Linked DNA regions of Homo sapiens: regions 1, 2 and 3 are each linked to region 4. Evidence: promoter capture Hi-C in 16 types of primary human blood cells and fetal thymus (Javierre and others, 2016). All regions are on one chromosome and are shown on one strand. Each heading gives the region's core, a stretch centred on a gene start or on the middle of the fragment in contact. The rest is flanking DNA. Distances are from core to core; before and after follow the strand shown.

The links. Contacts are between HindIII fragments. The CHiCAGO score rates a contact against its expected background, and 5 or more counts as called.
Region 1: a contact is called between a fragment that was not itself captured here and the fragment with the promoter of INTS12 in region 4, in 8 of 17 cell types (total CD8 T cells, total B cells, total CD4 T cells and 5 more). The highest score is 10.1, in total CD8 T cells.
Region 2: a contact is called between a fragment that was not itself captured here and the fragment with the promoter of INTS12 in region 4, in 5 of 17 cell types (naive B cells, total B cells, total CD4 T cells and 2 more). The highest score is 6.9, in naive B cells.
Region 3: a fragment that was not itself captured here is called in contact with the fragment with the promoter of INTS12 in region 4 in 4 of 17 cell types (total CD8 T cells, total B cells, naive B cells and 1 more); the score reaches 6.6 in total CD8 T cells.

What each region holds. Positions count from the first base shown.
Region 1 is chr4:105,157,527-105,164,077 of GRCh38, forward strand. All of the region lies in intron 1 of TET2 (tet methylcytosine dioxygenase 2), which reads left to right. All of the region lies in intron 1 of LOC124900868, which reads right to left. Among named protein-coding and RNA genes, the nearest start is that of TET2, 14 kb to the left of the region's middle. RefSeq lists an enhancer at 4,520-5,228. The HindIII fragment of the contact is 1,241 bases long and covers 2,712-3,952 here.
Region 2 is chr4:105,112,732-105,120,172 of GRCh38, forward strand. No RefSeq gene overlaps it. Among named protein-coding and RNA genes, the nearest start is that of TET2, 30 kb to the right of the region's middle. The HindIII fragment of the contact is 1,114 bases long and covers 2,815-3,928 here.
Region 3 is chr4:105,182,105-105,188,765 of GRCh38, forward strand. The region is part of intron 1 of TET2 (tet methylcytosine dioxygenase 2); the gene reads left to right. All of the region lies in intron 2 of TET2-AS1 (TET2 antisense RNA 1), which reads right to left. Among named protein-coding and RNA genes, the nearest start is that of TET2, 39 kb to the left of the region's middle. The HindIII fragment of the contact is 422 bases long and covers 4,693-5,114 here.
Region 4 is chr4:105,704,584-105,711,388 of GRCh38, forward strand. It overlaps INTS12 (integrator complex subunit 12), which reads right to left and starts at 4,106. Exons shown (of 8, transcript NM_020395.4): 1 at 4,055-4,106. It overlaps GSTCD (glutathione S-transferase C-terminal domain containing), which reads left to right and starts at 4,201. Exons shown (of 12, transcript NM_001370181.1): 1 at 4,201-4,433. LOC124900747 (a long non-coding RNA gene) reads left to right here and starts at 1,799. Exons shown (of 2, transcript XR_007058214.1): 1 at 1,799-1,840; 2 at 3,318-3,513. LOC124900748 (a long non-coding RNA gene) reads left to right here. Exons shown (of 3, transcript XR_007058215.1): 2 at 731-807; 3 at 1,296-1,391. RefSeq lists an enhancer at 4,181-4,430. The HindIII fragment of the contact is 4,662 bases long and covers 551-5,212 here.

The DNA.
Region 1 (6,551 bases), core at 2,082-4,581, 550 kb before region 4:
TGGAAAAACACTGGCAGAAAGCAAAGCTAATAGACATTTTGCTGTTGGCTCACCTTATTAATGGCTAAGATTTAATTATGTATTTCTACTGAAAAGCAAACTTGAAAAAGACGTTTGGTTACTAACTGTGGGAACTAAAAATTTTTATTTATTTTTATTTTTTATTTTTTGGTAGAGTCTCACTCTCTTGCCCAGGCTGGAGTGCAGTGGCATGATCTTGGCTCACTGCAGCCTCCTCCTTCTGGGTTCAAGCGATTCTCCTGTCTCAGCCTCCCGAGTAGCTGGGATTATAGGCACCAGCCACCATGCCTGGCTAATTTTTGCATTTTTAGTAGAAACAGCGTTTCGCCATGTAGGCTAGGCTGGTCTCGAACTCCTGACCTCTAGTGATCCACCCCCTTCTGCTTCCTAAAGTGCTGGGATTACAGGCATGAGCCATCGGCCTGGCCAACTTATTTACTGTTACAACTTACTTACTTTGAAACAACTTATTTACTGTTAAAAAATGTGGTTCTTATTTCAAATAAGATTTTATGGACATCAACTAATTTTTTAAACATATATTGTAATTTTAAAACATTTTTACCAACATTTTTCAAGAGCATGGGAAATCTAGGGTATGGCATTTTAAAGTGACTTTAAAGACACTTCTTGGGTTTTGTTGAAGTCAGAATATTTTTAAAAATACAATGAGTTTAATTTACTACTGACAGATTTTCTTTAATTTTTTTTGCATTGTTATAATTAGTCATGCCTTAATCCTCGGGGTTTTTGGGAAACTATATTTAGGGGTTAAAAACTTAGTTATTGACATTGTAATTTTTCTCAGTATTGGTAAGAATTCAGGTGTTTAAGGAATGGAGTTTACTTGTTTTCTGTTCACAAACCCATTGTAAAAGATATAATGAATGTAGATGAAGGTGAAATCCGAGATAGGAAGAGAGGTAAAATGCTACTTTTTTTTCCTTCACCCAAGGAAAGCCATTGAATACTGAATGGGTCATGTTGTAATTTAATTGGGTGTAAATTATAACTTTGTAAATCATTTGCCTACTTAGTGTATATCTCTGGTTTTTATGTAATTCATCTCCCATAATATCTCAGTTTACACTGAAGTAAATAAGCAAGCAGGAATAAGTCCTGCAAATAGAGGAAGTAGAAAGTGCATTCAGAATGCATTGCTGAAATTGTAAAACTGATCCTAAATTGAATTAGGTAGAGCAGTTAATTTAGATTACAAGAAATGCAACAGGAAAAAAATATTACAGTTCTTCCTCTTTTTTGGAAAAAAAAAAAGAAAGAAAAGACAAATAAATCACCCTTAGTTAGTGATAATTCCTTGACATCTGTATGCTCATTTTTAGGGCCAAAAAATAGTAGGCTTCTCTTTGGAAATTGTAGACGCTTTCTCTCCTTCCAGTTACACGCGGTCACATCAACATTTGACACGTGGGTACCGTGCACGTGGCAGCAGTATTTACAAACACCATCCTAGGATTCCAGAGACTCTTATGTAACAGTGGAGAGAGTAAGCTTTGAGTGTCTGTGGGCGGAGGAATCAACACAGTTTAATTCATTGTCCGGGAGCCCTTGTCTGGCTCTGATAGGGTCATGAACCAAAGATCAAGGTGTTTAGGTCAGGATATTCCCTAACGCATGGTTTTCCTACCAAAGCCTCAAAAGCTGTGCCTAAATACAAGATTAATCTTTTTCTTTCTTTCTTTCTTTTTTTTTTTTTTTTTTGAGACGGAGTTTCGCTCTTGCTGCCAAGGTTGGAGTGCAGTGGCGCCGCGATCTCGGCTCACTGCAACCTCCGCCTCACCGGTTCAAGCGATTCTCCAGCCTCAGACACCCAAGTAGCTGGGATTATAGGCATGCGCCACCACGCCCGGCTAATTTTGTATTTTTAGTACAGACGGGGTTTCTCCATGTTGGTCAGCCTGGTGTTGAACTCCCGACTTAAGGTGATCCGCTTGCTTCGGCCCCCCAAAGTGCTGGGATTACAGGCTTGAGCCACCGCGCCCAGCTAAGATTAATCTTTTTATGCCCTGCAGCAAACAACTAGTCATGCCAAACCATTTTTGTGATTTGGGGAAACATGAGCAGATGATGCTTTGGATCTGATTATAATTCACAGTGCTCTTGTAATTTACGTGAGATTTGCATACCTGCCTCCCAGCCTCACAAAATGCCTTTAAAAAATTACATCTTGGCCAGGATGGCTCACGCCTGTAATCCCGGCATTTTGGGAGGCCAAGGCGGGTGGCAAGAGATCGAGATCATCCTGGCCAACACGGTGAAAACCCGTCTCTGCTAAAAATACAAAAATTAGCTGGGCGTGGTGGCGGGCGCCTGTAATCCCAGCTACTTGGGAGACTGTGGCAGGAGAATCGCTTGACCCCGGGAGGCGGAGGTTGCAGTGAGCCGAGATCGCGCCACTGCACTCCAGCCTGGCGACAGAACGAGACTCCGTCTCAGAAAAAAAAAAAATCTTGATATTTGTATGCATCTTAAAAAGCAAGAGAATTCATGATTGACTTCCCAAACTAAACGGTCTGACCAGAAAACACTCAAGAAAACTCTTGGTTAATCATGCTCCTTAGTATACCATTATACCTGCCTCTCCCCTTTCCCCATCCTCTGTAAATTCTCTCAACCTTCTCTCATTTTTAATTTCATACCAAGACCTAGAGCTAAAACAACAACAACAAAGCTTTAAGTCTCTATATTTAGGGAATGTGCCTCCTATCCCAAATTGATTTTTAGAGCTTTTCATTTATTTTTATCAATACAAAGCAAGTTGAAATAAAAAAAAAGGCATCAAAAATTTAAATGTCTAACCACGTATATTTGGTATATGTATACTGGTGCTATGTATTAGCTGTAAGCAGACTGGTTTGAATATTTAAAATATGAACAGAATTTGAGTTCTTTTTGTATTGCATCTAAGGATCATTTGAGATGGATGTCATCATTTATCATCCAAAATAGAAGCCTTCTTGCCTAACAAAGAATTGTAATTAGATCATCAAAGATGAAATTTATAGTAATTGAAAAGTTAGCTCATTTGACTGCTTCTTTCATAGACTGTGTTTTTGTAATTACACTACCTTTCTAAAGATAGGAAAAATCAGAGTCTCTGAAATGTAATACTATAAGTGAAATATGTATTTTTTAAAATAAAGGATCTTTTCCCAAGAGCTAAACCAAGCACCAAATCTGTTTTTTGGGGGTTTTTTGGTTTGTTGGTTTGTTTGTTTGTTTGTTTTTGACAGAGTCTCCCTCTGTCGCCCAGGCTGGAGTGAAGCGGAGCGATCTGGGCTCACCGCAACCTCCGCCTCCTGGGTTCCAGCAATTCTCTGCCTCAGGCTTCGGAGTAGCTGGGATTACAGGCACTCGCCACCACGCCCGGCTAATTTTTGTATTTTTAGTAGAGGCGGGGTTTTACCATCTTGGTCAGGCTGGTTTTGAACTCCTGACCTGGTGATCCACTCGCCTCAGCCTCCCAAAGTGCTGGGATTACAGGTGTTTTTCTTTAAGTAATACTTGGTATAAGAGAACTTTATATCTGGAATAATTTAAATATTATCTGACCGAATCTATTATTCACATATAGAAACTCAGGTTTTAGCCATTTAACATCTAAAGCTGTTCTCATTTAGAGGAAATTACCAAAAGAGTGACTTATTTAACTAACAATAAAATCTAAGGATAGATATTTTTTCATTCTGTTGCAGAGCAAAAGCAGCCTTCTGGATATGAAAAGATATTACTTCTTTAGTGTTTATTACTTATAATTTATTGTACATTTCTGATACACTGAATTAAGATGCGATGAGAGTAGGTTGTAGATTTTTAAAAGTTCTTATTTGCGTGATTTATCTACTTGCTTTTTTAGTGTCGGACTATAAATGATGTATTTCTCTCAATTATCCTCGGCCTAAATAGTAAAAGCTTGGGTGAAATTACTTATGAGTATACTTTTCCTGCACAGAGCAGAGCCATTACTGAACACTCTCGAGCTTTAACAAAAATCATCCTATCTTATATTAGAATATTAATATTTTCCCTCTTTCTCGGACCTTTGTTTCACAGTAAATCATATATGGATATAAGCTGCAAGTGCTCAGAATTTGATTAAGGCTATAAGTTAATTTCTACTAAAAAAGGGATTCAAATAGAACTTTCATTTGGCTGTACTGTAGTTTCACTTGAAGGGGCAAGCATGCAATAAACATTGACTTATTCAATGCATAGGCTGTCTTCATAAAGATGAGACTGAGTGACAGTTGTCTGTGTATTATAAAATATCAGAATGGTAGATTGAATCTGATGCATACCAAGGAGCAATGTGGAAATTTTAGGCTGTTCGTCTTTTTTCAGTTACTACTAAGTGTGTGTATGTGGTGTGTATGTGTTTTGAACTTTTCATATTTAAGCTGAATCCTCTTTGGTAGAAATGGTTAAATAGACTATAGTAAAAGTTTCTGTCTATAAATATAAAATGAAAAAATACTGATATCTTGCATTTTCCCTAATATGTTGAAAGTGCACAGAATCCTTGGGGTCTTTTGTATAAACTGTTTTTATATGGTTCCTGTAGAAGACAGCTGAGGCACCAAACACACACACAAAACAAACAGCTTGCTTGGTGATGATAACATTCGTGCAAGGGAGTTCTCTCTTGCATAGGAGTCCCAGGTTACCCTAATGCCTTCCCACATGGTCAAACACATGGAGCTTTCATATTTACACACAGCTCCAGAATTCTGAAGCCTGCAGTTGTTTATCAGTGGGATACAGGGAGAAAGAGTGGTGTCTATCTTACTAACTGTTTAATGACCTGGATCATGAATACTGATACAGAATAAGAAAGCACTGGCCTGACTGCAGGGGAAACATGGTAGATGCCTAAAGGAGGCTTTTCCCTGCCCCACACTGTTTATTTTAAACTATCATTATCACCTGAAAGGAGCTTTTCACTTTGAACTTAAAATAGTAGCTTTTAACCCTGACAAGCAAGTAGGCACTTTAGTATTCAAGAACTGAAGGTGACAAGCCCTGAGGAGTGTTACTCTCTTTCATAACCAAGCTGACTCAAACTCTTTTAGAAGCTAGTGTAGTAACTTAACCATCTCTAATAATGTTGCTGCATGCCTTCATAGAAACAGTTGGAGCAAGAGCTGCATTTTCTTTTTTTTAAGTGTTTATTATTTACATTTTATTTTTGAAAACATGCCATTCCTATTACATATAGAAATACTTCCCAAAATCACTGTTTGTATAGAACTATTTTGCTTAACATTAGGATTCTATTGAAGAGCCTATATCTGCAATAATACGGGGAGAAAATCCCCTTTTGTGTGATAGATTAATGATAAAGAGAAAGAAAAGGTGAGAAGTAATTTTGGGAAATATGCAATGATAAACTAGTGGTATTTATTGAACTAAACACCAGCAGCTGTGCTTAGCATGGATAATTGCCTAAAAGGATGAGAAAAAAAAGTAAAAATCAGGAGACTATAAATTTTTCAGTGAAGAATAAATTTTCTGTCACAAATTATGAACATTTTAAATATGTATTTTAAACTTTTTCCTACTTGTAACAAATTATCAGACTTTTTAATCTACCTTTTTTGAGCTTTTCATCTTTTTCCCTGAATTATAGATTTAATTCTGTGTATGTATGTGTGTGTTTGAATATATTTTTATATTTTAGATCTAGATTTGTAAACTAGAGCTGTTTCTAACTGCTTATAAGACATTGCCACCTGGATTGCCACCACTTTCACTCCAGTATTTCAATAAACACTTCATCAAAAACATAGTTTATTTTCAAACATAGAATCATGGATTGCTACAAGCTGAAAGGACTTTAGAGACTCAGTAACCCCATTCCTTGCATTTACAGATGAGAAAATGGAGGCATGGGAAAGTAAAGTCAGTTGCCTCAAATAGCGTAACAAGCTATGTATATTTCTAATAATAGCTACTATTGATTAAGTTCTTATGTTGGGTTAAGTACCATGCTAAGCACTTTCCAAAGATTATCTAATTCTTATGTCATCTATATTTTTGTTGGTGCTATTACTCTCCTCACTTTACTAAGGAAGAAACCAAGACATGGGGTTAAATAACTTCCCTATAAATTTTGAATTATCTTTGGCATCATCTCCCTATTTGCAAATCTCCATTGTCTCTTTGTTCGTAATCAATGTAAATCAACTCTTAAACAGTTGGATGCCAACAAGCAGTCTGGTGTTTGGAGCTCGAAAGTTTCGAGAGAGAGAGAGAGAGAGAGAGAGAGAGAGAGAGAGAGAGAGAGAGAGTGTGTGTGTGTGTGTGTGTGTGTGTGTGTGTGTTCCAGCTTTGTTGAGGTATAATTGACAAGTAAACAGTCCACAAAACTGTACACATTTAAGAGATACAGTGTGATGTTTTAATATACATTGTGAAGTGATTATTACTATCAGGCTAATTCACATGTCCATCACCTCTCAGTCATTTTTTGTGTTTACGGTGAGAACACTTAAGAGCTACTCAAATGTAGT
Region 2 (7,441 bases), core at 2,122-4,621, 590 kb before region 4:
ATTCTTAAAGGAGAATTTAAGTTACACTTTGGAAAATACTTGTAAAAACAGAGTTGTCTTTGCAGGGAGCACATCATCTTGAGGGGAGGTGCTACAAAGTTAGAAAAAAGACAAATAACACCAAGCAAATTACAGTTTTTAAAAATAGTATTATCTCAAGGAAACAGATGAGAGCCTACAGGGAAGGGGAAAAGTTAGTAAGAAAAGAAAATAATAAAAAATATAAAACAAAAAGTTGTCCCAAAAAACTGATGAAAGAGAAAAATAAGGAAATAGCACGGAGATATGAGAGGAAAAAGACATAAAAGAATGACATACATGGAGTCATAGTGTCAAAAATACATTGATCTGACAGTCAGAAAGACAGCTTCCATATTCCAAAAAATAAGGTGGGGGTGGAGGTGGGTTGGCATAAGGAAGAGCCTAGAATGTTCAAAAATATGAAAGACAAAAAAGCTAGGAAACTGTTCTGATTAAAGGTGACTAAAGATAATACATAACCCTTGATAGAATCCTAGATTGTAAAAAAAAAAAAAAAAAAAAAAAAAAGACATGGAGACAATCAGGGACATTTGGATATGGATGGATTATATATTAAATAATAGTATTATGTTAATGATAAATAGTCTGAGTGGCAATGGTATTGTAGTTATATGTATACATACATATATATAGTATGTAGGTTATATATATATGTCTTATTATAGGAGATAGAGATATATGCTGTGGTATTTAGGGGTAAGATGTCTGCAACTTACTCTCAGCCTTTTCAGGGGGAAAAAACGTAGTATAAGGAAAAGGAGACAAAGTAAATATGGCAAAATGTTGACAATTCATGAATGTAGAGGGAGAATCTACAATGTTCATTGTCCTATTCTTGTAATCTGCCTGTAGGATTGCAGTTTTCAAAATAAAAAGTTTCTCAAAATTAAAAATAACATAAAATCTTGCAATAAATAAATTCCAAAGCTGTTTAAAAAAAGCAAAAAAAATTATGTAGCATAAGCTACCTTGCTCAACCCTTGTCCATCATCCTTCTCCACTACAACTTCATCAAAGAGAGAGTGTGTAAAACCAAATTATTACTAATTATTGATTAGTTCTGCAAATAAGAACCCTGAATTCTTTAGAGGTTAGTGCTCTTCTTATCATTAGAACCACAACAGTTCTCTACTGCCAGTCTGGACAGAAGCAGTTACTTTGTGGTATCTATTGGGTAACATTGAGAGGAAGAAATGGGAACCTCTAAATGCAAATTAAGCCTGTGGTTAAAAAAAATTAATTAAATAAAAAAATAAGCTAACGCAGGAGAACTTTTTTTGTCTCACTAAGATAGTTGTGTAATATCTTGAGTGGACAAGCAAGGAGGGGTAATTTAACAGATATAGCAATGTGTCTTGTGTGTTAGGCATATATGGTGGAGAATAGACTGGTTTTGGTAGTCTATCTCTAAAAAGAGAAGTATAGGTAACTGAATGTGTTTTAATTATTTGAAAGATTTACTTCTCTAACAATCTAAAAACTGAAAACCTTTAAAAGGAACCCTACCTAAAAGAGGAGGATTTTTTCTTAATGAGGAAGCATTCTATCATTACATTCAGTTTAAAATTACAATGAACAACTCTGGCAAATATGAAAAGGGATGATGCTCCTATACATTGGTGGTTTCAGCATAAATTGGTACAATATTCCTGGTAAATAATTTGGCAACAGGTTTCAAGAGTCACAAAAATATTCTTATCTTTTGATCACTTTTTATCTTAAGAAAATAAAGAAAACAAAAGAGAAGAGTAAGAGAAAGGGAAAGGGAGGTGAGAGGAATGAAGAAAGGGGGATGGAGGGAGAGAAGGAGGGCAGGCAAGCTGTGTATAGATGGTCATTTCAGAATATTTATAGTTTAAAAAAGAGAAAGGAAGAAAGATGTTCAGCAATAATGACATGTTTATATAATGCACATCAATATAAGCACGTATAATATCTTTCAAGCCTTAAGACTGAACAGGAAGAAAAATGCTAACATAGCGATGAGTGGAGTATATATAATTAAAAATGGCATCCATTTGATGATTCATCTATGTAAAGTCATGTAAGCATAAGGAGAAGGTAATTTGTTTGATTATGAACAGGATGGAGTGAGGTTTATCCTTTTTTTTTTTTTTTTTTTTTGAGACAGTCTTACTCTGTCGCCTGGGCTGGAGTGCAGTGGCGTGATCTTGGCTCTCTGCAACCTCCACCTCCTGGGTTCAAGCAATTCTCCTGCCTCCATCTCCCAAGTAGCTGGGATTACAGACACCCACCACTACGCCTAGCTAATTTTTTATATTTATAATAGAGAAGGGGTTTCACCATGTTAGCCAGGCTGGTCTCGAACTCCTGACCTCATGATTCGCCCGCCTCAGTCTCACAAAGTGCTGGGATTACAGGCATGAGCCACCTCGCCCAGCCGGTTTATCCTTTTAAAGTCCCCATTGCTATTGTTACAAGAGTAGAGTTTAGTTAATTGCTTTCTATTTATGACAGGGCATGGAGTGCAGCAAAGTCTACCAAACTGAATACAGTTTTGGAGTGTCGACAAAATATGAATTTCCTCTTCACTTCTGCAGACTATCCATATGAAATTATATTTAATCTGTATAACTAACTCCTCAGTCTATTCTGCTGTAATAAAGCATCTTTTCAAGAAATGAAAATAATATCTACATGATTAGAAAAGCTGTTTATGCCAATTTGATGAAGCATGTATTTTAGGTTTGCACCTATATAGTGTGGTTTTGGAACTGGCAACACTTCTATTTCCATCTGTCATTTAAAGCAAGCTTGGTTTAGAAGAGCCACATAGTGTGCTAAAGGTTAGAACAAAGACTCTAGAGCTAGGTCAATCTGGGTTTGAATCCCTTACATGCCTTCTAGTTGAGTATCCTTGGACAAATTTCTTAATATCTCTCTGCACTTCCATTTTCTCATCTGTAAAGTGGGTAGAAAACTTATGCCTACTTTATAGGGATATCATGAAGATTAAATGAGTTGATGCATATGAAGTTCTTAATACAGTACCTGGCATGCAGTGATGTTAGCTGATCATCAGGGATTATTGGTTCTCTTTAACCCACTGCTTTTATACAATGAACAGTTAGTTCTAAGGGTGATCAAATTAAAGCACATCTTTTAATATTGTGGGGCTTGGGTCTATATTTAGACTCATTTCCAGAATAGTCTCATGGCCAGAATTTAGACGCAGCCAGAATAGTCAATGGCTAATATTTTTTGAGGACATCTTCAGTGCCATAGTTCTATCATCACATATTATATAACAATGTAATATTAGTGTTGTGGGGATATTTTTTCAGGAAAATTATGTAAATTTATGTCCAGATATATTACTTTTTGAATTTCATAGAACATATATGATTGAAGGGAAGCTGAAGAGTAAATTTTGGTTTTCTTGAAACCACTACTGAAAAGAGTTCACCTCCATAATGCCTCTTGCTATATTCCTATTATTCAAGGTCTATCTAGACTGCCCCAGAAGATTTTCAGACATTTTAGGTAATCTACACTTCTTGGTTTTTCTAGAGAAGTCAGTCGGGGAATCATGGGAATTAATCTAAACTTCTTACAGGAATTATTCTAATTTTCTAATCCAGGAAGGTGAGAATGGACCAGGAAAACTTCTTAGTAATAAGCAGAAAGAATTTGGTGCTAAGAAAGAAGTTAAGTACACAGATTGCATTCTGTTTTTATTTACCAAGCAGTCCTGAACATTTGTAATGCACAAAGCTGTATACAGGCACAGTATAGAAACAAGTTGCACCATCTTTGCTCTCAAGTAGCTTATACTTCACATGACAAAAAGATATGCATGCACAAATATATAGCAAACGAGGAAATGCATATAAAATATCGTCCTATCAAAGCATGATTTTGAATAAGCTTTAAATCCTAAAAGATTCATTCCAGCAAGTATTAATAGTATTTTGGTTCTCATTAGTTCTACCAATAACTTGGGTCTTGAACTTTCAACACTTCATTAACTGAAAGAAGAGGCTGGGGTAATCACTGTTGCAATAGCATGACTGCTATTTTTTTTTCTCTTGCAGCCACCAACTGATAGCTACAAAACTGCACTTCCTAGAGACATGTTGAGAGAGGTTCAAGGCTCAACAGAACTTACCCTTTTGCTGTCAGAGGTACAATTAGATGTTTGATGTAGCTCCCAGGTTAATTACAAAGTGAGCATTACATTAGATTAATAAATGCTGAGGTTGATGCCCTTGCAATGAGGGAAGACAGTACCGAATAATTCAGCTCACATTTTCTGGTCGGCACTTATCAATGTTAGTTATTTGGCAGGTCAGCCTGACCTGGGTTATGTCACAAAAAGCCACATGGGGCAGCTGTGGAAGCAAATCAGTGATCCTAGCTCAAGGGTTGTACAAAGCATTTTGTGCACATTTAACAAGTTCAAGTACCATTCAATACTTGATGGTACTTGAACCATCCAATACATGCTGGTTTTTCCCTGGGATTAAAAGTAAATATGTTTTTCCACTTTTTAATTGGCCAAATATTTTATTGAAACATTTAATTGAAAGTAATCTCCAAAAGTATTTCCAAGTTCCAGGAATTTGAACAGTATGCTGATAGAATAAAGGAGGCTATTACTGTAAAACTTCTTTCAGTATATATAACCTATATCCACAGTACATCAGAAAGCAACTCTGCTTGAGCATATAAAAAGTGATGTCTAAGTAGGAAAAAATTTGGCACTAGGCCAGGTGTGGTGGCTCACACCTGTAATTCCAGCACGTTGGGAGGCAGAGGCGGGTGGATCACTTGAAGTCAGGAGTTCGAGACCAGCCTGGCCAACATGGTGAAACCTCGTCTCTACGAAGATAACCCAAAAATTAACCAGGTGTGGTAGTGAGAACCTGTAATTCCAGCTACTCAGGAGGCTGAGACATGAGAATCGCTTGAACCTGGGAGGCAGAGTTTGCATTAAGCCGAGATCATGCCACTACACTCCAGCCTAGGCGACAGAGCAAGACTGTCTTTAAAATTTTTTTTTAATTGGCACTTTATTTTATTATAACAATAGAAATGACAGTACAAAAGTTCATCTTTTCTAAATAGAACAATGACTAGCATATTGTAAGGTCTTGATAAATATTCCTTGAATAAATCTTTGGCTAGCCTGAGAAAGTAGAATTCATTTGGCATTTATACCTAATATTAATTTCCTGATGATTTACACAAATATTTTAGGGTCAAGTTTTGAAACCCCAATAACCTAATTCCTTACTATTCCACAGTGTGGTCCACAGACAAGCACCAATATCACCTGGGAGCTTGTGAGATCTGCAAAATCTCAGGCCTAATTAATCAGACCTGCTGAATCAGAATTTGCACATTAAAGTTTGATAAAATCTCTTTCAAAACTGGTGAAATAAGGCCGGGCACAGTGGCTCATGCCTGTAATCCCAGCACTTTGGGAAGCCGAGGTGGGTGGATCACTTGAGATCAGGAGTTCGAGACCAGCCTGACCAACATGGTGAAACCCTGCCTCTACTAAATACAAAAAATTAGCCGGGTGTGGTGGCGGGTGCCTGTACTCCCAGCTACTCGGGAGGCTGAGGCAGGAGAATTGCTTGAACCTGGGAGGCAGAGGTTGCAGTGAGCCAAGATCGCTCCATTGCACTCCAGCCTGGGCAACAAGAGCAAAACTCTGTCTCAAAAATAAATAAATAAATAATAAAACAGGCGAAATAGTCCTAAAGTTAAGATCAAAGCCCTCTTTAAATAGAGAAACACAAGGGAAGTAGATCTTAAAATATGGTAATGGAACCAGAAAGGATGTTTGGAAAGTGCAAAATATTACTTGCATATGTGATGTGGCAGATACATACTGTCAAATGTTCATACCCAAGTAATTATTGTGACTTTGAGTGAGTTCCTCAACCTCTCTTGCAGTTATTTGTAAAAGAAAAAAGGCAAGTTCGAAAACTTCTAGTTCTAATGTGACTTTCCTCTTGTCTTCAAGTGCTTTGGGTCTTATTTCCCACAAATTAACAGAAGCATCCCTTTCACCCTACGTCATACCAGTTTGGCCACTGTGTGTGCCTCTTGTCCTAATTTTTACCTAGCCCTCACCCTACACTACTCTGCCACACACCTGAGACATATGCTATAGGCATTCTGGATATACTTTTAGCCCATTAAATGTGAAAACAGCATTTATTCTGGAAAGCTCTCTTCATTTCAGATAAATCAGAAAGACATTTACTCATATATATTATACGTATATCACCTGATTAATTGGGCAAAATAAAATGAATAACCCTTTTAATATCCCCTTTTCAACACATATTCCCTTCTGTTATACTTCTTACTATCGTTGGGGAAACAGGAGAGATGTCTTCTTTTTTCTCTGCTCTGTAAAAATTTTTAAAGAAATCTTTCATAAAGATCTCTTTTGTATTTTTTAGTTTGATATATTTGTTCTACTAACTTAATAAGGTATTTTAATGGAGATTCCATAGAAAAATAATTGCTAGCAGAGTTTTAAAGACAGTTTAAGTACTTATATCCCTAGAGTAGAGGAATATTGTATGACATGATTTAAGAAAACCATTGCTAATGAACATAGTCATCAGCAGATTTTGACTTAAGGGGCACTGAAAAATCCTCTAATCTTATCTTCTCTTCCAAAATATACTATCTGCTGGGACCTTCTATTTGCATAGTATGAAGACAAAGAACTACTAAGCCATATGGCTTCAAGATAATCCTGATGTGGTAACTTAAAAGATGTCATCAAAGTCTTGCCACACCTCTCATCAGGAGGTGAAATCTATTTCCACTCCCCTTGAATCTAGACTGGCCCTGTCACAGACTTTGACAAATAGATTGTGGCAAAAGTGATTATGGAACTTCTAAGAGTAGGCCTTCAGAGATCTATATGCTTTCTCCCTCTTGGAATGCTCTCTATTGGAAGTGAGCAACCATGCAAGAAATAACAACTACCCTGAGTCCACCATGCAGGGAGGAAGCCTGAGCTAACCTCATGGAGAGAGAGAGTGTGTGAAGGAGTACAGAAGGGCCATACCTGTGAGTAAAACTTTCTCGGAACTTCCATTTCAGCTCCACCACCAGATAAGCACAACTGAGCGAATGACACCAACCAGTGCCAAGAGAAGCAGGACTACCCAACTACACTTTGCCTAAATTCCTGATTCACAGAATTATAAGCAAATAAAATGATTGTTTAAAGCACTAAGTTTTGGGTTCATTTGTTATGCGGCAATAAAGAATCAAAACACCTGGAACCCAGTTCCCTTCTCTTTTATTACCCACATGGTCTCTCTCCTGTAGTGTCGCTGTTTTTCCTGACTAGCTTTCTCATCCTGCTGTTACACCCTTACTAGGAATTTCTCTCAGCAATATC
Region 3 (6,661 bases), core at 3,654-6,153, 520 kb before region 4:
AATAGTTACATTTTTTTCCAGTGACAAATGGTAATTTGCAAAGACTTGTAACAGTTGCTTAATACTTTTTTATCCCTTATTTAAGAATCATGCAAACAACCAGAGCTGATAGGCAGCAGGTGCACATGAGTGTGGCTGTGCTGATGGTTACTGAAAGATTTCCAAGGTAGCTAGTAATTCTGCTACCCTAAGCCACTATAGCTCCTTCCCCATTACTCCCTGGGTCTACCCACCATCCTGCAGCTAGAATAATAAATGGCATGTAGGTTCCTCTAGGATCCTCCTCCAGCACTATGTCTCATGCCTGGACATATGAGCTGTTAAATATTTTGATTATCACTCCTGTGTGGTAAGGGAGACGTCTACTTGTCGTAACTTGATGTTTACTAAACTACTTTTAAGATTACCTTATGATAAAAGTAGACACTTGCAATTTTGCAGAATGCATAGTTTGTTTTTAACAAACCAGGTAAACATAACTGCAGAGTTTTCCTATACGTTTTGAAATCTTTAAAAAAGTATTTTTTATTTGCCTTTCTATTAGAAATAGATTAGATAAAAATTTCCTTGTTTCAATTTTTAGAATGAACATTAGAGAATATTGTTACTGAAGGAATTTTTTTAAAAATAGTGACTGATCAAATGTCAGCAGCTTTATACTATAGTGTAAAATTTTATTTTGTAGTTTGCCATCCCATTAAGCATTAGAATTTTTATAATTGATCCTTTGATGTTTATATTCATGATATTAATGTAATGTCTTTAAACCTTAGCTCATATAGGTCATATGACTTAAAGCATCCTTAGATGAAGATATTTGGGCTATAAATAATTTATGACATAAGTGATTTAAAAATTCATTCTTTCCATCCATTTTGAAGAAATTGTAAGGTAGGGTTCATGTATACCTAATACTTATCCCCCCAAAATACGAAAAATAAAATCATTTTTAAAATATCTGGGTTAATGCTATAGATTGGAAGCAGTTTTTAAAAAGCACTTAAAGTCTACCAGTTTATTGATCCTCAATCTGTGGCTGTTTTAAATGGATGCAATTAGCAGTTCAGTCTAAGAGAACCATGGTAGTAGACTCATTACTCCCCAGAAACCATTACATCATTTTGTAATATTAAATTACTAAATATAAGGAATAGAATATATATTGTAAAAATTGCTTTGGAATCAATAATAAGTATTGTGGCTATCAATTATAGTTATATATTACAATGTAAGGGATATCCTTTTATAAACTTAATATCACACAAGTAGACTTAGAATAATTCCATTAATATAATTTTGCTTGTGTTTTTATACCTATTCATTTCAATAACTCTTTTTCCTATATATATTTTTTATCTCAAATTCGATAGTATCTAAATCATGGAATCATAAAACCTTAAAGCTGGGTTGGAACAGAAATAATACAATTTAACATCTTATAGGCTCTCTAGTCCTCAGTTTCCCTAAGTGATCGGCTCAAGATCATGAATTTATGGAGGATTAGAGTCAGAATTAGAACCCAAGATTAATTTATACTTTGTTATCTCTTCTACAGCCTACCCCCTTAGTTTGCCTGTGGGTTTATGGAAGTTACAGGAGAGACATTCTGAGATTCAGCTAAAAACCTAGCTCCCAATAGAATTATTGCCCTGTAGTCAGCCGCGCAAATACAATCACAAATACCTGAAGTTCCTTGTGTGAAGAAAAAGAAAATGACTATTAAAGCATCAAAATCAATGCAAGTTACCTTTCTTTGCCCCTTTCTTCCCCTTTCACTCCTTTCTTCTCCTATACTACTTGAAATTTCTAGCGGGGATCTCTAAAATGCCTGGATGTTAGGAATGGTAAGTCTATTGTAGAGAATTATATTTTCTATTTTAGTGGATGAAAAATAAACCATACCCTTAAGAGGCTTTTCAAAGTTAAGATTTTGAGCACATCCTTCATTGGCCCAGTCTCTGACCAGTGAGGTCAAGTATTAGCCAGTGTCAGAATGTCGTGAAAAGTTTGTGTTTCAGATGCAGAATTTTTTTTTGCATTTTCTGTGTGATGTTTATAGGGTATTTTCTTCTGAAATGTTTTCCATCTTGGTTTTTAAAAATATCTATTATTTTAAAAAATATTCCCTCATAACTTCTTTTTATTTTCGGAAACTATATAAATTGATCTGATAATCTATACACAATGCCTTGTGAATTTATACCTGTACCTCTCATGTTCCAGTGTTTGGTTCTTAAATAATCACTTTGTATAATGGAAATACTATGTTAAATTGTTTATAACTGGTGGTTGATATTTCAGCCTTGTTTGGCTATCGTAGTTATATAAAGACTGTTAATTAGAAACAACCTCATATGGTGTATGCTTGTTTTTATCTTCATGGAATTTGTTCTGCAAACACTGAGTTCTTTACTGGGAGTCACCACTTTGTCTATGTTAGGAGGAGCAGGAAGTGAATACATTTAAGGTCTTTAATTTTCTTCTTAAAACTTTGACTACTGTAGTGGTTTTTTAAAGCATTAACAGGAGAATAGCCATCACTGCCAAGTAGCTGACATTCTGAAATAGCACTTCCCTTTAGGCACTGTACAGTTGGAATCATTTACTTGCAGAGAGGTGTGTGTGTGTGTGTGTGTATTTATGTGTGTACTCATGTGTATAAGAATAGGAGAAACACTTTGTGGGCATATCCTGCTGAGGTGAGTAACGTGCTGATTAGTGAACTCCAGTCTCATCCCATTTAAACCTGGAGGAGAACCACATCAAGCACAGAAGCAGCCAAAGCAGCATTTCAACAGGAAGGAAACATCTATTACTGGGGCTTTGAAGAAACATGCCATGAAGGTGTACTAATATCACAAAGGGAAGGGAAGGACTAAATTCAGCATGATAAACAAAGTCCCTTTTTTGTAACGGAAGTGTTTGATGATGTTTGATCAATGGTGGATCTATCTCTTGAAAGGAAAATGCATTTAAACCCCAAATGGAGGATTCTTATATAAGGTGCCTAGCTTGTAATGATATATTCATGTTTATAGGTAGAGTGACTGGTTTTTAGAGAAGAGGTTTTTTTTTTTCCTTCATTTTTGAACGAAAACTTGTCTGTCTCTAGGCTTTGAAATGTAGAATTATTTACCTTTCCCCAAAATGAAATGTTTCACTGAATCTCCTACAAGCTTGTGGAGGCCATGAAGCATGTTGAATAAGAGCACAGGCTCTGGAGGCCCTGCCACCCACAAAGGGTGTGCTAAGGTAAACAACTGATAGTATTTTGAAAATTAGATGACTTAGAATCCATTCAATAAATTTTAGCTATTTTTATTGTCTTTTTTTTCTAAATCTATTTGGAAAATATTGCAGATAAAGTAGATAATACCTTTCTAAAACACAGTGAGACCAGGCGCAGTGGCTCATGCCTGTAATCCCAGCACTTTCGGAGGCCGAGGTATGCGGATCACGAGGTCAGGAGATCGAGACCATCCTGGCTAACACGGTGAAATCCCGTCTCTACTAAAAATACAAAAATTAGCCAGGCGTGGGGGCATGCGCCTGTAATCCCAGCTACTCAGGAGGCTGAGGCAGGAGAATGGCGTGAACCGGGGAGGCGGAGCTTGCAGTGAGCCAAGATCGCACCACTGCACTCCAGCCTGGGCTACAGAGCAAGACTCTGTCTCTAAAAAATAAAAAATAAAAATAGAACAGTGAATAGTTTATAAAGATAAAATAGAATAGGCTTCAATTTAGGGAACAAAGGAAAATATGTTTAGGAATGATATTATGCTCAAAATGATTGCAACTTTGATGGTGAAGTGTATTTTATTCAATTAAAAATGTAGATATGGCTGGGCGTGGTGGCTCACACCTGTAATCCCAGCACTTTGGAAGGTTGACGCAGGTGGATCACTTGAGGTTAGGAGTTTGAGACCTGCCTGGGCAACATAGTGAGACCTCATCTCTACAAAAAATAAACAAAAAATGTGCTGGGTGTGGTGGTACATGCCTGTAGTCCTAGCCACTTGGGAGACTGAGATGGAAGGATAGCTTGAGTCTGGGAGGTCAGTGCTGCAGTGAGCCGAGATCGTGCCACTGCACTTGAGCCTGGGTGACAGAGCAAGACCCTGTCTCAAGAAAACAAACAAAAAAACAAAAACAACAGTAGATATGTGTGTGGGAATGAGAACATTTAAATGTGCTCATCGGCTTAGATTTTTCTTTAACCCCCTTCATGGCCCTTATCTTAACCTCTGTCTTCAGCACTACCCTTCATATGTTTGTTCCGTTTTATCTTCTAAGTGATTTTTTTATAACTCTCAATGTATCATGGCAGAAGGAAAACTCAGTGTATAAGCTGACTGTATTTTGCATTTTCTTTTTTTTTTTTTTTTTTTTGAGATGGAGTCTCACTCTGTCACCCAGGCTGGAGTGCAGTGGTGCGATCTCAGCTTATTGCAACCTCCGCCTCCTGGAGGCGATTCTCCCGCCTCAGCCTCCCCAGTAGCTGGGACTACAGGCTTGCACCACCATGCCTGGATAATTTTTATATTTTTAGTAGAGACGGGGTTTCATCATGTTGTCTAGGCAGGTCTCAAACTCCTGACCTCAAGTGATCCACCCACCTTGGCCTCCCAAAGTGCTGGGATTGCAGGCATGAGCCACCGCGGCCTGGCTTCATGATCCAAAATAGCATCATTAAGCTTCTCTTTCAAAACATGTATATAAGCCTGTGAGTCATCACTGTATTTATCAGAATATTATCATATTGGAGACTTTGCAAAGCTGAACAAAGCCAGAATTATTGGCTACTGAGGAACTATATTCTAGCAAGAGACTATTCTATTTGTTGGGGATCACCTCTTTTTACTAAAGGGGACTGTTTTGGGCATATAAAACTAGAATTCATGGTTTCTCCTTGATAGTTTGCCAGCTTGATTCCCAGTCAACCAGATAACTGCTGGTAGTGACACTCATGTCCTCCAGGACTCCCAATCTTGTGCCAGCTCAGAGAGGGAAATCCCCCTAGAACTGCTCACACCATTCCAAGAACCACAAGCACCACCTTGGTATAGTTAAAAATGTGATACCAACTCAAATTCTGATAAAAACAAGTTCTATAAAGCTTAATAAAGTTATATTTTTTACTTTTTAAGTTTTGTTTTACTATTTTAAACAGAAAACAGAAGGTAAAAACTCCTCTGCCTTCCTCAGTATTTGGTTTGTCAGTTGCTGAACTCAGATTTAAGAGTCTAATCATATACAGGCAATAACCCTCTTCTAATCTTAATAATGTTTCTTTGATCATTTCTTTAAAAAGAAAAATGAAATAGCCTATTGACTCCAACCCTGACCTCCTGTACTTCACCTGCCTGATGAATATTTATTTGGAATACATAAGTTTTTTCAAATGCATCATGTCAAGAATTTGTCATTTCAGATTCCTTTCTAGAATTATCTATTTATCTCATTAGTAGCATCATTCTTTCAGACAACCAAACTCAAAAGCTTTATCACTATAATTGAATTTCTTTTTTCTTCTTACATTTAAAATGTTACTAAATGCCATTCATTTCTTTATCAGTAATATTTCTGTTTGATCATTTTATTTCATTTATTCTGCCACCCTCTCATTCCAACTATTGCTTATACTTGAGTACTGCAATAAGCCAATATCTTGCATATGATTATTTATAACACCTAAATCTTCTACCACTTCACACTCACTGGGATGGATATAATTTTTAAAACATACAATAACAGGTGTTAGTGCGGATATGGAAAAATTGGAACCCTGACACATTGCTAGTGGAATGTAAAAAGGTGCAGCCACTTTGCAAAACAGTTTGGCAGTTCATCAAAAGATTAAGCATGGAACTACCATAAGACCCAGTAGTTTCGCTCTTAGGGATTCCACTCTCAAGAGAATTGAAAACATATGCCCATACAAAAACTTATAAACATTGTATATCCATGTTTGTTGCAGCATTATTCACAATAGCCTAAAGGTAGAAGCAACCCAAATGCCTACAGATGGATGAATGGATAAACAGAATGTGGTATAGACATACAATGGACTATTATTCAACCTTAAAGAGGAAGAAAATTCTGACACATGCTAGAAAATAAATGGATCTTGTATACATTCTACTAAGTGGAATAAGCCAATCACACAAAGAAAAATATTATGATTCCACTTACATGAGGTACTTAGAATAGTCAAATTAATAGAGGCATACAGTAGAATAATGATTGCCAGGGGCTGGGAGGAGGAGCAAATGGGAAGTTATTGTTTAATGAGTATAGAATTTCTGTTTAGGAAGATGAAAAAGTTCTGGAGATGGGTGGCAGTGATGGTTGCACAGCAATGTGAATGTACTTAATGCCACAGAATAGTATACTTAAATATGGTTTGAATGGCAAACTTTGTTACATACATTTTATCACAATTAAAAAGTTTGAAATGAATATCCAAAGAAGCATTATTTATGAGGCTAAAAGTGGAAGTAACCCAAAAGTTCATCATTGATAGCTAAAGGAAACATGGCATATCAAAACAGTAGAATATTAGTCATACAAAGGAATAAAGTACAGACACATGCTGCAATACAGATGCACCTTAAAAACATTACACTAAGTGAAAGAAACCAGACGTAAAAGGCCAAATTTT
Region 4 (6,805 bases), core at 2,856-5,355:
TAATACATCTCTGCAGTCCATGTGTCTCTCCCAAGATCCAACTGCCAGCTTGACATGGATATATCATTGGTGCCTCCTATGCAACGTGTCTCCAACAGAGCCACTCATACACTATTCCCTTTTCTCCTAACCAGTTCTTCCTCTAGTAATCCCTTTTTCAAATGATATTTACCCTATTGCCCAAGCCAGTAACCCAGAAGCAGCTTTAACTCTTCCCACTTCCTTAATTCCCACCCCCAATTCAATAACCAAACCTCTTAAACATACCTCAAATCTATCCACCCTTTTCAATCCTTACTACTACCACCCTAGACCAACCTAGCATCATCTATTATCTGGCCCACTGCAAAAGCTTAATCAGTCTCCCACAATCACTCTTGTCATCCCTTTAAACCTTTTCATATCACTCACTTGCTTAAAATCCTTTTATCACTTCTCACAATCCAAAGGTTCAAGAATAAGATTCTTAACAAGGTCTCCAATTCTCTACATCAGGGGTCCCTAACCTTCAGGCCATGCAGCAGGAGGTGAGCAGTAGGCAAGCGAGGGAAGCTTCATTTGTATTTACAGCCACTCCCATCACTTGCATTACTACCTGAGCTCTGCCTCCTGTCACATCACTGGTGGAATTAGATTCTCATAGGAATGCGAATCCTATGTGAACTGTGCATGTGTGTGATCTACGTTGTGTGCTCCTCATGAGAATCTAATGCCTGATGATCTGTCACAGTATACCCCATCATCCCCAGATGAAACCGTCTAGCTGCAGGAAAGCAAGCTCAAGGTTCCCACTGATTCTACATTATGGTGAGTTGTCCAATTATTTTATTATATATTACCATGTAGTAATAAGAGAAATAAAGTGCACAATAAATGTAATGCACTTGAATCATCCTGAAACCATGTCTTCAATGAAACTGGTCCCTGGTGCCAAAAAGGTTGTGGACCATTGCTCTACATGATTAATAATACATATAAAGCAGTTACAACAGTACCTGACACATAGTTGACACTCATTAAATGTTACCTAGTATCTTAGGCCATTCTCACTCTCTCTGTTATAGCTATCTGACTTATTTCAAGTCCTCCAATATACTCTTTCTTACCTTAGCACTTCAGTAGAAAGTGTGCCACCCCCACCTCCATCTTAAGTCACCTCTCAAGTTTCAGTTTTTCCTGCACATTCCCTCAACAAAACTAGAAGTTTCACTGTTACATAGCCCAAAAACATTCTGTACTTATTTGTAATATTAATCACACTGTTAATTATGTAAATAATCTTTCTTTCTCATTAGAATGTAAGTTCCATGAAGGCAGGCAGTGGATTGGTCTTGCCTACTGTTGTAACCCCTGTCTGGCAGAGTTCCTGGAAAACAGCAAATAACTGTAAATGTTGGCCAAGTAAATACTTGTTATCTACTTCCAATTTCATAAAACTTTCTCTTCCCTTGAGTTCTGTTATACTCAACTTTTCTGTTTTTCCTCTTCTATCTCTGACTACTCTTTCTTTGGCTTATCTTCTTTGTTGCTTTTGGTATTGTCCAAGTATTTGTCCTTGGCTATCTTCTTAGTTCTGCTAGCAGTTTCTTCTTGGTAATCTTATACACATCAGGTTTTCAACTATCATCTCTGGGTAGATGATTTAATATGTTTTACCCCAACTTCAATCTCTTTTTTTTTTTTTTTTTTTTTGAGACATGGTCTTGCTCTGTCACCCAGGTTGGAGTGCACTGAGATCATGGCTCACTGCAGCCTCGAACTCCTGGGCTCAAGTGATCCTCCTGCCTCAGCCTCCCAAGCAGCTAGGACTACAGGCATGCACCACCGTAACCATGCCCAGGTAATTTTGTTGTTTTTTAAGTAGAGCCAGGGTCTTGCTATGTTGCTCTTATCTGGTCTCAAACAATCCTCCTGTTGTGGCTTCCCAAAGTGCTGGGATTACAAGTGCGAGCCAAATCTCTTAAATTTGAATCCCATGTTTCCAAATGCTTAGTGTATGTGTCTATGTGATTCCTTAATGGCATCTCAAATTCAGTTACAACTAAAATTGAGATTCTGATTATCTTCCCGAAAAGTTCCTTGTCCTGCTCTTACTTTCAATAAATGACACAACTTTCTTTTAGTCAGGTTTGAGACCAAAGTCTTTCCTTCACTGAGTCTTTCCCTACTCCTTATATTCAAATAATCAGAATTCCTGTGGATTCTGACGGCAATATTTTTCACACTTGTCCTACTTTTCACTTCCACTGCTACTACTGAAATTCAGGTTTTATTAGCTTACTTGAACTATGGCAATAACCTCGTTATTTTCCTTGACTTCAACATTGTTGCCATATGAATTTTCCTGAAACCCAGTTTTCTTCTTTTTCATTAAAATAAAAAAAAAAATTCTTGCTGAGAAGTTAGGGCTTTCTACCACCTTCGAAATAAAGACCAAATTTCTTGGCCTAGCATTTAAGAAGATTCAGTAACTGGCACAAAAATTATCATTCATCATCCCCAGATCTGCCTTATAGCTAGCTGACCCTGCCACTCTTATTTTTTTTGTCCAGGAAGCTCTTTACCTATTTTTATATATCTACATCCTATCAAGACCCTATTCAAATACTTCTCATGAAGATTTGACTGACAGCTGCTGTGCCCCTCTCCATTCCAAACCCTATTAATAGTCTCTCCATTCAAGGATATCTCATAGTGCTTTTTCATGGTATTGCAACTTTCTCCCTTGAAGCATTTTTTTTTTTTTTTGGCACAAGTGTTATGTCCCCTACAAAACTCTGAGTACTTTAAGGGCAGAGTCTATATTTATCTTTTTGCCTATCTCTTTGCCACTTTGCAAAGTACAACAAAATAATGGCTATAGAATTACTGGAATTAAGTGATCAAAGTATAGTGGTCTTATCTCTCCTTCTACACAATTGTAGCCATTTCCAAGGTCCCTTCAGCAAAAATCACAAAAGTAACTCACCCCTGCCCCCACAAAAAAAACTCCAAACATCAAAAAAGCAAAAGCAAAGCAATCACCTCTTTCACGACTGGGGACTTGTAGTACAATGTTCCTATCTGTAAAATTCTCACAATCTTTCGCCTGTCTTGCTTAATTCATTAATCCCACTGGTCTGTAAACTTGATGACAGCAGGAACTTGTTTTGTTCACTGTTATTTCCCTAGTGCTTGAAACTTAATAAGGGCTCAAAAATATTTATCGAATGAACGAACTAGGTTTTTTGCGTAAATGTCACCTTATAAGGCTTCTGTGATCTCTCCAGTCTAAATTGGGCATTCATATATAAATATAAGTATGTGCTTTCTCCTAGATCCATTTTTCACCCTACCTGGCAATCTCAAAAGAAGTCCAAAGTTGATCATATGCACGTGCCCCAGATGAAGGAAACAGAAACTGTTCACATAGAGTGCAGTATTATCGTTGCCATTTCATAATGGCTCTAAAAAACTTTGTTCTTCATGACTTCGCAAGCTCTTGCAACCCCTTCCAATAAACATTATTTTAAAGATGCTGCCTTTTTCATTCCTCCACTGAGTTCTTGGTTCTGGATAACACTGATACCTTAGGGACACCTGGAATCGCAGGAGAAAAGGCTCCGATTCCAAACCAATCAAGTGGCTGAAAGCTGACAGCAAACACTTAGAAAAGGAATGTCAATCCTTTGATCAAAGCATCACACATCGAAGTCCTAGAATGGGGGATGGTCCTTGACAGGGGAGCCAAAAGATGAGAGACAATGAGGGAGCTACGTAGAGAAGTCACTAAAACCCTCCGACAAAGTCCGAGGCAGGATTCCAAGTCCCTTGTCCCTAGACCTAGAAATATGCTCGGTCCGCATGTCCCGGCCCGCAACTCCCTCGGAGGAAGCACAGTCCTCACTGAAAGGGGAGAGCAGTCAGTCTAGGGCACGCAACCGCCCGTAAATTATGATTCCCCTTGAGGAGCGAGGAAACTAATACCCCACGTAGCTACTCTCCCACCTCGCTCCTGGCGCGGGGGTCTCGAGCCTCCAGGAGGCCAGGAGCAGAGTCGCTCAGCATAACTCACCGTTCCGCCCCGCCCTGCCGATCCGTCTGTTCCCGGTGGTCCCTTCGGAAACGGTTCCCGCACTGGCCGGCTCCGAAAGCAGGAAAACAAAGGTTCCCACAGTAGGGGCGGGGGAAACGTTTGGCAGTGCGACAGTAGGAAGTGACGTTACTTCCCTTTTTCCGGTCCGCCGGATTATGAATGACGGCCGGCGCGAGTATTTTCCACATAAGGTGGCTGTCGTTTTTCTCCTGGCGTCTGTGGAGGCGAGTGGTCTGCGGGCAGCAGCTCCCAGAGGCAGCCTTGGAATTCCAGCTCGGACTGGGCGGGAAGGCGCAGGCGGCCCAGGTCGCCGACACGCTCACGCACCCTCCCTGCCTGGCCGCGCCTCTGCGACCAGGTAAAGAGGGCGCTCGGGCCGCCGGCTTCTCAGCCTCCGCGACCCCCTAAGAACTGGTCTTTTCTTCGGGGGTCTGCAGGGCTGAGGATGCGGGGGAAGGGTGGGAAGGACAAGGGCGTGGTATCATCGTCCTGATTTTTCTCCCGCCCTGGGGCCGCCTCAAACTCCTTTTTGGCCACTCCTGCTGAAGGTGCGGGTTGAGGGCTCTGGGCTTCTCGGTAGTACGCGTTTCCCAGTTTCCCCCTAGCCAGTCCCTCATGTCTTCCTCTGCTGATGGAGAAATGGGGCAGCTTCCAGTTGGAGGCGTTGGTTGGGGTGGTTTGATATTTGCTGTTAAGTGTTACTTCAAGACCTCTTGGGTCACACTAACTTCTCTTCTCTCTTTGGCATTGAGTTTTCCATTCCAGCCCTTCCTGATTGCAGAAAGCAGTTCTATGTGAATACTACTTAACATTTACTCCAAAGGACTTGCTTCATTTGGGGCCATTTGCTTATGTTTTGTCATCACAGCAGTATCTCTTGGGTTTTTAACTTCTATAGAAAGTTTAATTTGCATGAAAGTTGCTTTGGTTTCAAAAACGTTTGCTAATACACGTACTTCCCATCCCAACTTTCTACCTGGTTTTGGGATGAGATGACTTGTTTTTTTCCCCTTTATTCTTAATGCCAGGATCCCATTCCTTGTCATAAATTCTTGAATATCAAGAAAATGCCAGCTTTAGTAATATATTGTGTGCTACATTATTGATAAAGAAGGTGGTGTATTTCTATTTTACCTAAGCTTATCTGTAAAAACAATGTTTACAGGAGAAAATGCAAAAGCTAGCAAGAACTAGTGATGTGATAATTTTAAACATGTAAACATAGTCATTTAAATCCATGATAATAAACTGTTATAACACAACTAAGTGATTCGCTGTCATATTTAATAAACATTAAGCTATGCGGGTTTTTTTTTCTTTTTTTTTAACTGCCTGATGGGGAGCATACACCACTGAGAGGATTGCTTTAAGCACACTCATTACTAAAAATTGTGTTTGTATTACACCTGAAAGTATCGTTTTGTGAGGTCTCACTTCAAAAATAAGACTGAAAAGGTCAATGAGATTTGAGAATCATCATTTCTTTTTATTTTATATACTTTGCACTTCTACGTGTTTTTGCTTTAATTTAAACACAGCTCAAACTTGAGCTTCTGTAGTAGTGGGCCCATCAATTTTTTTTTTTTTTTTTTTTTTTGAGCTGGAGTCCTGCTCTGTCGCCTGGGGATGGATTGCAATGGCAACATCCGCCTCCCGGGCTCAAGCAATTCTCCTGCCTCAGCCTCCCGAGTAGTTGGGATTACAGGCGCCCACAATCACACTCGGCTCCTTTTTTTTTTTTTTTTTTTTCAGTCGAGGAGGGGTTTCACCATGTTGGCCAGGCTGGTCTCAAACTCCTGACCTCAAATGATCCGCCCGCCTCGGCTTCCCAAAGTGGTGGGATTACAGGCGTGAGCCACCGCGCCCGGCCTGTTTTTGTTTTTTTAAACTTGTTTTACTTGTAGCTTTTGTTTCATCATCTGTGATTTTTAAATAAAAATAAATACTGAGTATCCAATTAGCTTTTCTAACAAAGAATAAATACTTGGAATGCAGATATTGAAACCATTTAGATTAAAACAAGCACAGGTATTGTTTGCTGTGAAAATTCAGTAATTTTATTTCATACTTGGTAACATGTTAGCCATTTGCGCTGTCGATCACTGTTAATTATGAGGTCGGGTTTAGCTGAAGGCATTATGACTCCATGGCAACAGATGATTCCCTGATTCTCCAGAGAGATTACACACTTCGTTTGTGGCTAAGGTTACTGTAAGCTTTTCACTTAAAAACTTTTCCTACTTCTTTACCAGATAAGAAAACAGCTAATTTTAATCACTGGCTTTTGTTCTCTAGGACTTAACTGCATCCCATATTACGTATTTAATGAGCTTGAAAAAATCTCAGTGTTTTTCTTATCGTTTTTGACCCTAAATATTTAAGGTAATTGGCTGCTATCTATCTGTTGAGGGGCATGTTTTTTTGTTTTGTTTTGTTTTGGTTAAATCTATATTATTGTAATAAAATAGGGTACAATTTTCAGCCAAATACTGTTGTTTTATGAAAAGCATAAAACACAAGATAAGTTATAAAATTCAAAATGTTGAACATATGATGTAGGAGAGAATTTAGGCAGGTTTAAATTTTAATCTTTAAGAAAAGTAAGTGTTTGTGATTTTTCATACTTATAAACTGTGTTGAACTTCTTATTTTGTACAATAGGTTGATATGCACATGGATTAAGGGTTTCACGTTTATATTTTACCATTTCATGATTCCCTGGCTTTCAGC